2 separate regions of the Homo sapiens genome follow, and region 1 is linked to region 2. The links are contacts of gene promoters, found by promoter capture Hi-C in blood cells and fetal thymus (Javierre and others, 2016). All regions are on one chromosome and are shown on one strand. Each heading gives the region's core, a stretch centred on a gene start or on the middle of the fragment in contact. The rest is flanking DNA. Distances are from core to core; before and after follow the strand shown. Region 1 overlaps RFX2 (regulatory factor X2). Region 2 holds the start of ACSBG2 (acyl-CoA synthetase bubblegum family member 2).

What was found. The method cuts DNA at HindIII sites, captures the fragments that hold promoters and counts their contacts. A CHiCAGO score of 5 or more calls a contact.
Region 1: a fragment that was not itself captured here is called in contact with the fragment with the promoter of ACSBG2 in region 2 in 2 of 17 cell types (monocytes and neutrophils); the score reaches 5.2 in monocytes.

What each region holds. Positions count from the first base shown.
Region 1 is chr19:6,064,873-6,069,870 of GRCh38, reverse strand. All of the region lies in intron 1 of RFX2 (regulatory factor X2), which reads left to right. All of the region lies in intron 1 of RFX2-AS1 (RFX2 antisense RNA 1), which reads right to left. Among named protein-coding and RNA genes, the nearest start is that of RFX2-AS1, 4.8 kb to the right of the region's middle. RefSeq lists enhancers at 3,679-3,973, 3,488-3,989. The HindIII fragment of the contact is 9,198 bases long and covers 1-4,998 here.
Region 2 is chr19:6,131,715-6,136,966 of GRCh38, reverse strand. It overlaps ACSBG2 (acyl-CoA synthetase bubblegum family member 2), which reads right to left and starts at 1,300. Exons shown (of 15, transcript NM_030924.5): 1 at 1,058-1,300. All of the region lies in intron 3 of LOC105372255 (a long non-coding RNA gene), which reads left to right. RefSeq lists enhancers at 530-1,432, 1,433-2,336. The HindIII fragment of the contact is 9,635 bases long and covers 796-5,252 here.

The sequences.
Region 1 (4,998 bases), core at 1,400-3,899, 68 kb after region 2:
CCAGCTGCCTCCCCATTCCTCTTCCTATCTTTCTAGCAAAAATTCCTCAAAAGAGCCATCTGGTCCTCCTGTCTCCAGTTCTGCTCCACTTGGGGCTCTCTTGAACCTGCTCCAACCTCTGTGGCTTTTGCACACACTTTTCCCCTGGAGCTCCTCTGTCACAATCACTGGTGACCTCCACTTTGCTGATTCCAGTGATCACCACTCAGCCCCAGAGTCACTTGGTTCTCAGGACACCACTTGCTTATACTTCTTTGGCCTCTTTTCAGGCTCCTGCTTCTTTGGGATCTCTAAATGGTAGACAGCCCCAGAACTCAGCCCTAGGCCTCTTCTCTCTGCTCTTCCTTGGTGAGCCCAGATAGTCTTATGGTTTTAACTAGGTCATTTATACACTGATGACTCCAGCCTACATCCTGTATACACTGGTGGCTCTAGCTCATGTTCTCTATACACTGATGGCTCCAGCCATGTCATCTATACACTGATGGCCCCATCCCATGTTCTCTATACACTGATGGCTTCAGCCCACATCCTCTAGACACTGGTGGCTCTAGGTCATGTCCCCTACACACTGATGGTTCCAGCTATGTTATCTATACATTGATGGCTCTAGTTCATATATTCTATACACTGATGGCTCCAGCCTGCATTCTCTATACACTGATGGCTCCAGCTCACCCCTCAGCCTGAGACTTATGTAATCTGCCTGCTTTCTCAGCATCTCAACCTGGGTGTCTAGGAGCCTCTCACACTTTACACCTTCAGAACTCAACTCCCAAGTGCTCTCCAGGCCTTTTTCTTGGGTAATTTTCCTGACCTCATCCTTTTAGTTGCCAAAAACCTTGGAGGTACCCTTGACCCGTCAGCAGATCTGGCTGACTCTACCTCCTATGTTTATCCAGAGTCTGACGGCTTTGCCCCTCCATGGCTCACAGCCAGGCCCCCCTCCCTTGCCCAGATTATCACATTAGCCTCCAGATTGCTCTCTCTGCTCCCACCCTTTTCCTTCTTCCCCTATTCTCAACCCAGCAGCCAGAGGGGCCTGGTTAAAATGCAAGTCAAACCAGGCCATTCCTGGGCTCAAACCTTGTGATGGCTTCCATTTACCCCAAGCAAAAGCCAGAGCCCCTACAATGGCCTGTGTGGGCCTTTCTCCTTGCCTTCTGGTTCACTCAGCTCCAGTTTCAAGCCAGGCATTGTCCCACCTCGGGGCCTTTGTACTGGCTTTTCCCTCCATTAGGAACGCTCTTCCCCAGGATATCTGGACAGCTCCGTCCCACACCTTCCTCATCTCTTTAATGAGCCCACCCAGGGAAGCATTTGACAACGCTTTAAAAATTGCAACCCCTTCCTATCCCAGCACTCCTTCTGTCTGCTTCCTTTTCCCCCTGGTACTTGTCACCATATGATATAGGGTGTCATCTGACGTACGACATATTTTTCTCACTTACCTTGTTTACTGTCCATATGCTCCTATCCTCCCGCATGGTCTAGAATAGAAACTCCATGAGGGCAGGGAATTGTGTTTTGATGACTGGTCAATGCCAGGCCCATGCTATGGATCCAATAAATATTTTATTGAAATCAATGAATGACACAGGATCTCTGTTACTCATCCTTCTGGACATGGGGTTTGGAGTCCTCACAGCCGCACCTCAATGCCTCCCTTGGGATGCAGCATCCAGGCAGAACCCAGCCGTGTCCCCTAAGCAAAGCCTCCCATGGCACCAGCTGCTGGTGATTTGACCTCCAGGACTAGCATTCAAGGTTGTCACCACATCACCACTTAGCCATACATTAACAGCCCAAGAGTCTGGCTTCAAATTCCTCATCTCCCTGCAACACAGATTCAAATTCTAACAGTATAGAATCTGTCTTCCTTTCTTCTCAGGGAGGCATGTCTATTCCATTCCTATTCTAGGAATGACTCCTGGATGATATCTTAAAAAAACAGTTTCTGTGCACTGACTGTGTCTGTCTCAAAGGGCAAACCTCCGCTGAGAGCTCCTTGAAAGGTATGCTTGGTCATGCACAAATCTATCAGCATTGTGTGCTTTTATCATCCAAAATGTTGACCCATCGAGGCTGCAGCTACATGTTGCTCATTCTATCAAAATGTTTTAAGATCCTTGGCTGGGCCCACCAAAAACAAGAGCACTGCTTAGAGCTCTGTGTTCCCCTTGAAAGGTGGTGGTGCCACTTCACCCTCTCCTGGTCCCAAAGCCTCAGAGAAGCCATGCTCAGCCTGAACTGCTCCAGGCAGAACAAAAGCTGCACTAGCTTCAGTTTAGCCCTTTTCTTTTCCCCCTTCATGGGTCGAGATTGCCCAACCATGTGCCTCCTCTTTCCGGAGATATGTGTCCCTTGTGTGTCCTGCCATCTGGGGGCATCTGATGTGGCCTGGCTTCCTCTTAGAAAAGTCTTCCTCTCTCCGGGTAGGGAGGGAAGAGCCGGCGCAGTGATGTCAAAGATATACTGTAAGTCCCTCCCGGCAAAGCCCCACAAGGCATTTCTGACGCTGAGTCAGTGGTTCCCTTTGCACTTGTTCCATACGTACATGATATTTCCAAAAGTCGTTTTAATTTGGTATCAACTCCTCTGTTTTCACACTTTTTTCCAAATAGCTTAATCCATGATTCATTTTACTTCGCCCAGAAAACACTTGTGCAGCTATGAACTCTCCCACATTGTTTGTTTGATGATAAATAGATTCTTTCCTCTTGGAGAAAAGGGCACTTTCTCCTCCCAGTACTAGGAAGGATTGAAATCCCTCCTGTGATGCCCTCTTACCTCAGAGAGAGTTGTTCCTCCTTGGGTTTTGTTATTTCAGAACAAATATGGTAAACTGTTTTCCCCTCAGTTACTATAGAGAAGAGATTATTTGCCTTTCTCTTAGGGCTTCTGAAAATAATAGATTACATATTTGAGAGGGTTTTTTTTAGATCTGGTTAATGTGAGATAGAGGGGGTTGCTCCGGGATGACATTGTTTGGTTTGGGAAGTATTCTCCCGGTTGCCCAGCAACAGGCTCTTGGAAACGGGAGTGGACTGCGTTGCCCCTGGCAACCGTTGTTACTTAGCAAACAATGAGGGCCGGGCAAACAGTGCCAAGACTGCGGACTCCAGGTTTTAATTGAACATCTGCATATATTTTTCTCTGATTAAATTTGAGTTTGATTTGCCACAACAGGCAGACATGGATCCACTCGGGATCTGCTTGAAAGAACCAATATTGTAATGTTGACTCCCAGGCTGCACAAACGCAGAGGCCCCATTGAAACAAACTTCTGGCCATTCGAATATGTCCTAGACTGCTCTCAACTGGAGACTTATTTTAGTCTTAAGTGGAATTTCTTTTTTGATCTAATTCCTGGTGTTCAGAAAATCATTACTTGTCCAACCTACTACCGTACATCACTGATAAATCCGCAATTTCTGGAGCGCTTTTCAGCACGATGCCTTCATTTCTGCTGCCTAAGAATTTCAGAAGAGCAAAGAGTTGAGCCCTGGCTGGCTCACATGTAGAGACATTCACAGATAGGGTTGGCTGAGGGTGGAAATTGGACCCAGCACCTTCTGGTTTCATGTGCTCAATGTTCCTGTTAAGAAGTTGGGTCCACCCGTGGCCCTCAGTGGGATGTGTATGTTATGTTTATTAAGAGAGGTCGCACGTTCCCACTAACAAAGTGCCCTGTTGATGGGCACTTTGCAGCCACAGGTTGGATTTTGATCAAAACAGCCTCACTCCCCCACCTCCTCCGCTGGCAAGCCAGAGATAGCGATTGTTGACAAGGGTTTGTTGCTTAGGTAAACACCACCCCTGAACTTCATTCAGAGCGGGTGACACATTTCTTCCCCTCCTCCCAGCCCCGCCCCCAGCCCCCGCCCCCACTGCCAGGGCTATAAATTCAGAACTGTTAGCCAAGACAGGTTTTTGGTGAAGACTTTATTCTTCCTCATTCATCTCGAGTGCAATCTGACTAATGCAGCAACAGCCGCAAAAGTGCCGCCTGTAACAGACACTCCAGCCCCTCACTAAAACAGCTCCTGTGGTTCCCGTGGTGAGACTCGCTTTAGTTGTATGGATTTTTTTTAAGGACGATTCACTTTGTTGCTGAATGCCCCCAAGAAAATGTTCATTGCACGTTTGTTACCGGCATTTCAGCTAATCTTAGGACTATTTAAAGTATCTAAACAAATTTCCCAACTTTCTTTTGCAGCAGAAACTTATAATGGAATGTCATTTGTGTTTTTTTTGGAGACAGAGTCTCGTTCTGTCGCCCAGGAAGCTCCGCCTCCCGGGTTCACGCCATTCTTCCGCCTCAGCCTCCCGAGTAGCTGGGACTACAGGCGCCCGCCACCGCACCCGGCTAATTTTTTTGTATTTGTAGTAGAGACGGGGTTTCACCGTGTTAGCCAGGATGGTCTCGATCTTCTGACCTCATGATCCACCTGCCTCGGCCTCCCAAAGTGCTGGGATTACAGGCATAAGCCACCGTGCCCGGCCTTTTTTTCTTAAAAAGGCAAGCTGATTAGCCATCAGCCTTATTAGATGTGATAATTAGGATCCAATGGCTGCGAGTGTTGTTGGAATGAAAATGAATAAGGTCTGACTTACACAAAGACTCCCCCAAAGATTAAAATACATTATTTGTCCTGCAACCTGTTGTAGGATAGTGGTAGAAGACCACTATATACTTAAAAAGATAAATCCTCCCAAAGAAATGCTGTTCTACCTTCTACAATATTATTTTCTGCCCAGTCCCCAGTTTAAGTAAGTCATTTTTCAGGAATTAGAGCCTCATTTAAAATTTTTTTTAAATTTATCATTTTCTTATTTCCCATGGAAGTATTTTCCCATATATCAGGCTTTGCAATTTGGGCAAACCACTTAACATCTTTAGGTAAGTTTCTTCATCTGTTTGATGAAAGAGCTGGGTTAGGTGGTTTTTAAAGGGGCCTCTCCATGCTGTGGTTTTAGATGGAAATTCTTGAATTT
Region 2 (5,252 bases), core at 51-2,550:
GGCTACAAATCCTGGACAAGATGCTCAGTAGCTTTGGTCATCAGGGAACTGCACGTTAAAAATCACACGATCGGCCGGGTGCGGAGGCTCACACCTGTGATCCCAGCACTTTGGGAGGCCGTGGCAGGTGGATCACTTGAGCTCAGGAGTTCTCTACAGAGGACTTGTAAGTTACTAGTAATATTCGATTTCACGAAGTGAAAAGGGCACACAGATATTTATCGTTATTCATTAAATCGTACAGATATGCTTTGTGTTATTTTATATGCATTATATGTTTCACAATTTTAAAAGGCCATGTAGGGTTCAGATGTGGTGACTCACACCTGTAATCCCAGCACTTTGGGAGGCTGAGTCGGGTGGATCGCTTGAGGCCAGGAGTTCGAGACCAGCCTGGCTGGCATGGTGAAACCCCATCTCTACTAAAAATACAAAAATTAGCTGGGCATGGTGGCGCGTGCCTATAATCCCAGCACTTTGAGAGGTCGAGGCGGGTGGATCACCTGAGGTCAGAAGTTCAAGACCAGCCTGGCTGGTATGGCGAAACCCCATCTCTACTAAAAATATAAAAATTAGGCCGAGTATGGCGGCTCACGCCTGTAATCCCAGCACTTTGGGAGGCCAAGGCGGGTGGATCACGAGGTCAGGAGATTGAGACTATCCTGGCTAATGTGGTGAAACCCCATCTCTACTAAAAAATACAAAAAATTAGCCGGGCATGGTGGCAGGCACCTGTAGTCCCAGCTACTCAGGAGGCTGAGGCAGGAGAATGGTGTGAACCTGGGAGGCGAAGCTTGCAGTGAGCCGAGATTGCGCCTGGGCAACAGAGCAAGACTCTGTCTCAAAAAAAAAAAAAAAATTAGCTGGACATGGTGGCAGGCGCCTGTAATCTCAGCTACTTGGGAGGTTGAGGTGGGAGTATCACTTGAGCCTGGGAGGCAGAGGTTGCAGTGAGCTGAGATCGTGCCACTGCACTATAGCCTGGGCAAAAGAGTGAGACCCTGTCTCAAAAAAAAAAGAAAAGAAAACGCATGCCCTTCTCCCATACCACTGGCACCTGTCACTCTTCAAGAGGTGTGGTTCTGGCCATCTGGCAAGGCACCTGGAGCTGGGACATCTGGTCACTCAGGTGTTTTCTTCTTCCTGCAAAGACAGTCAACAGGTAGCCCCTCCTGGAAACCTGAACATGAGCTGCCCCTTCCCAGCCCCCGTCACCCTCTCCGTCCAGCCAGGATGATGGTGGTGGTGGGAGGCAGGAGGATGGGTGGTTTCCCTCCACAACAGGCCTTCTACCCCATTCAACCTTCCAGAACGTTCCATCCCAGCCACCTCTTGTGACATCACTGGCTGCCCCTGCCTCCGCACCCCACCCCCACCCCTAGGGGAAGCTGCTTCCAGGACAGGGAGATTGCTCTTTTCATGCATCATTCATTTATTCATGCATGCATGCACTTCTGCGTTGCATTCGTGACGTTTTTATGAAGCCATGACCCTAATGGCAGGGATTGTGCTGGATGCTGGAGACATAAAGATGAACAAAGCCAGATGAGGCCTGTTCAAGAAAATAAGAGGAGGCCTAGAATCACACAAACAAATGCAAACTTACCATTGTGAAGAGAGCCCCAAGGCATGTTGAGGGCTTGATCAAAGGATCCCGCCCAGGCAGGGAGTCTGGGAGTGGTTTCTTTCTTTTCTTTCGTTTTTTGAGACGGGAGTCTTGCTCTGTCACCCAGGCTGGAGTGCAATGGTGCGATCTCAGTTCACTGCAACGTCTGCCTCCCAGGTTCAAGCGATTCTCCTGCCTCAGCCTCCCGAGTAGCTGGGATTACAGGCGCCCGCCACCACGCCCGGCTAATCTTTTGTATTTTTAGTACAGACGGGGTTTCGCCATGTTGGCCAGGCTGGTCTCAAACTCCTGACCTTGTGATCCGCCCGCCTTGGCCTCCCAAAGTGCTGAGATGACAGGCGTGAGCCACCGCGCCTGGCCTGGGAGTGGTTTCTTGAGCTGGGATCTGAAGTATGCCTGGATGTTATTCCTGCCCTCGTGACTTTCTCTTACGCTGCCTGTCTTCATGTGTTTACAGCGGCCTCCCCCTTCTCGTTCTCTGCTTTAGTCACTGCTAACAATGTCCACTACCAGGCACAGTGGCTTGTGCCTGGAATCCCAGCACTTTGGGAGGCCAAGTCCGTAGCATCACTTGAGGCCAGGAGTTCAAAACCAGCCTGGGCAATGTAGTAAGACCCCGTCTCTACAGAAAAATTTAAAAAATTAGCCGGGCGTGGTGGTGCGCAAGTGTAACCACAGCTAGTAGGGAGGCTGAGGTGGGGGGATTGTTTGAGCCCAGGAGTTCCAGGCTGCAGTGAGCTGTGATGGTACCATGGCACTCCAGCCAGGCCTACAGAGCAAGACCTTGTCTCAAAACAAAAAAGACAAAACAGTGCCAGGTGCAGCACATACTAGATGCTCAGTAAATAAAGATGTAGCAACAGAATCTTGTGCTGTGCCAGGAGAAAAGGACAAGGAGTGTTCCTTTGTCTCCAGGGCCTTTTGTGTGTGTGTGTGAGAGAGAGAGAGAGACGGAGTTTGGCTCTTGTTGCCCAGACTGGAGTGCAATAGCGTGATCTTGGCTCACTGCAACCTCTGCCTCCCGGGTTCAAGCGATTCTCCTGCCTCAGCCTCCCAAGTAGCTGAGGTTACAGGCATGCACCACCACTCCCGACTAATTTTCTGTATTTTTAGTAGAGATGGGTTTTCACCATGTTGGCCAGGCTGGTCTCCACCTCGTGGCCTCAGGTGATCCACCCGCCTCAACCTTCCATGGTGCTGGGATTACAGGTGTAGCCACCGCACCTGGCCACCAGGGCCTTCTTAATGTTTCACAAATATCTACTCTGCAGAGCACCTGGGCAGCTGTGCCAGGACAGCCAGTGTCCACCAATGTCCATTCAGCCCTTCTTCCCCAGAGCTCTCACCTAAAGAGAGAGAATGTTTCCCAGGCCCCCTGACTGCATGGCGTGTCCATGTGACTACATCCTGCCCTGTGGGATGTGGGCATAAGTGGTGGGGGCCATGCCTGGTCATGCCTATAAAGGAAAGGAGGTGACACCCTTCCCCAACCCCCCATCCAGTAGAATCCTGGGATCAGGAGCAGCCTCCTTGGACAGGGGTGAAGCTGGAGGGGAGGGAGCAGGTCAAGAGGTCCCCAACAGGAGGGAAGGGACCTCTGTCTCTAAAGACAGTTGAGCCACTTTGCTGGTGCCAGACAGATTTATGCAAGTTGCACACACGCTCGCTCGCTCGCTCAGACACTCTCACGTGCACAGGTACTCACACACAAACAGACCTTCCCATGGGCACACAATCACAAGCACACTCACATACACTCACACTCATAACATGCTCCCACAATCACACCTGTTCACACAATTCAAATACTTTCATACAGACACAAACTGGCAGGCACGCACACACACACATGCGCACACACAGTCACATGTACTATCAGACACATGATTACATGCATGCACACTCATCCACAGTCATGCACATATGCAGTCACACACGTGCCTCATTATAGAGACATCCCATTTCGTACACATGTACACTGTCAGACACACAATGTGTGACAGTCACACAGTCACATTGCTCAGGCCCTCATACGCACAATTACATGCACACACACATATGGACACACATGGTCACACACACCCTCATACAGACACACAATTACACACCCACACTCACACATTCACATACATATGCACACACTTGCTCACACTCTCACCCTCGTACAGACACAATTATATATATGCATTCCCACACTCACACATATATGGACATGCGTGGTCACACAGCCTCGTACGGACACACAATTACACACACTCCCACACTCCTACACTCACATACATATGTGGGCGCTGCCAGCCAACCTCCAAGACACATACATATGCACACACATGCTCACACTCTCACACACCCTCATACAGACACACAATTACACACACATATGCACGCACGTGCTCACACACACCCTCATATGGACACATGACTACATATATTCATTCCCACACACGTATATGCACACACATGGTTACACAGCCTCATACAGACACACAATTATATACGCACACCCACTCACATATGCACACACATTCTCACACTCACACACCCTCATACAGACACACAATTATATACGCAAACCCACTCACATATGCACACACATTCTCACTCACACACCCTCATACACACACAATTATATACGCACACCCATTCACATATGCACACACATTCTCACACTCACACACCCTCATACAGACACACAGTTACATACACTCACACACGTATGCACTGATAGACACCTAATTATACACATAATCATAATCTCACACACACACTCCTGTGTGCCCTCATGCAGACAAATACACACAGGCACACACACCCTCATGCAGATACAGTCACATATACAGTCACATGTCCTCACACCTGCACACACTTGCACACCCCACATCCTCACACACCCTCAGATACCCAATTACATATATACACTCGCACACACATGCACACACTTGCTCAGACTCACACACAACCTCATACACACAGTTACATACACACATACATTATGACACACATATGCACTCATATACACTCTCATACAGACACACACAGACACATACACATACTCCCAAAGATATGCACACACACCCTCATGCTGACACACGGTTGCACATACAGTCACCATACATTCACACACACATACTCGTACAGACACAGTTACATACACACACAGTATGGCACACACTTACACATATGCACTCACATACACCTTCATATAGATGCACAATCACACGTGCACTTAATTCACACAGGCACACATACACAGTTACATACAGTATGACACACACGTATACACTCACATACACCTTCATATAGACGCACAGTCACACATGTGCACATAATTACACGCATGCACATGTACACAGTTACATAGAGTATGACACACACATATGCACTCACACCTTCATAGAGACACATAATCACATACACACACACCCTCTCACCGTGGAAAAGTAAATCTCCTTGGAGAAAATCTGTCCATAGCTATCCCAGACAAGTTTCAGCAAGGATGAGGACGCTGCTGTGCTACCCAGATCTTTTCAGTGATGAAAGATGTGTGCCCCAGCCTCTAGGAATGTTGCTGGAAGCAGACCTCTGCTGTCCACCCCTTCAGGTCAGCATCTGCCAAATGGCACGT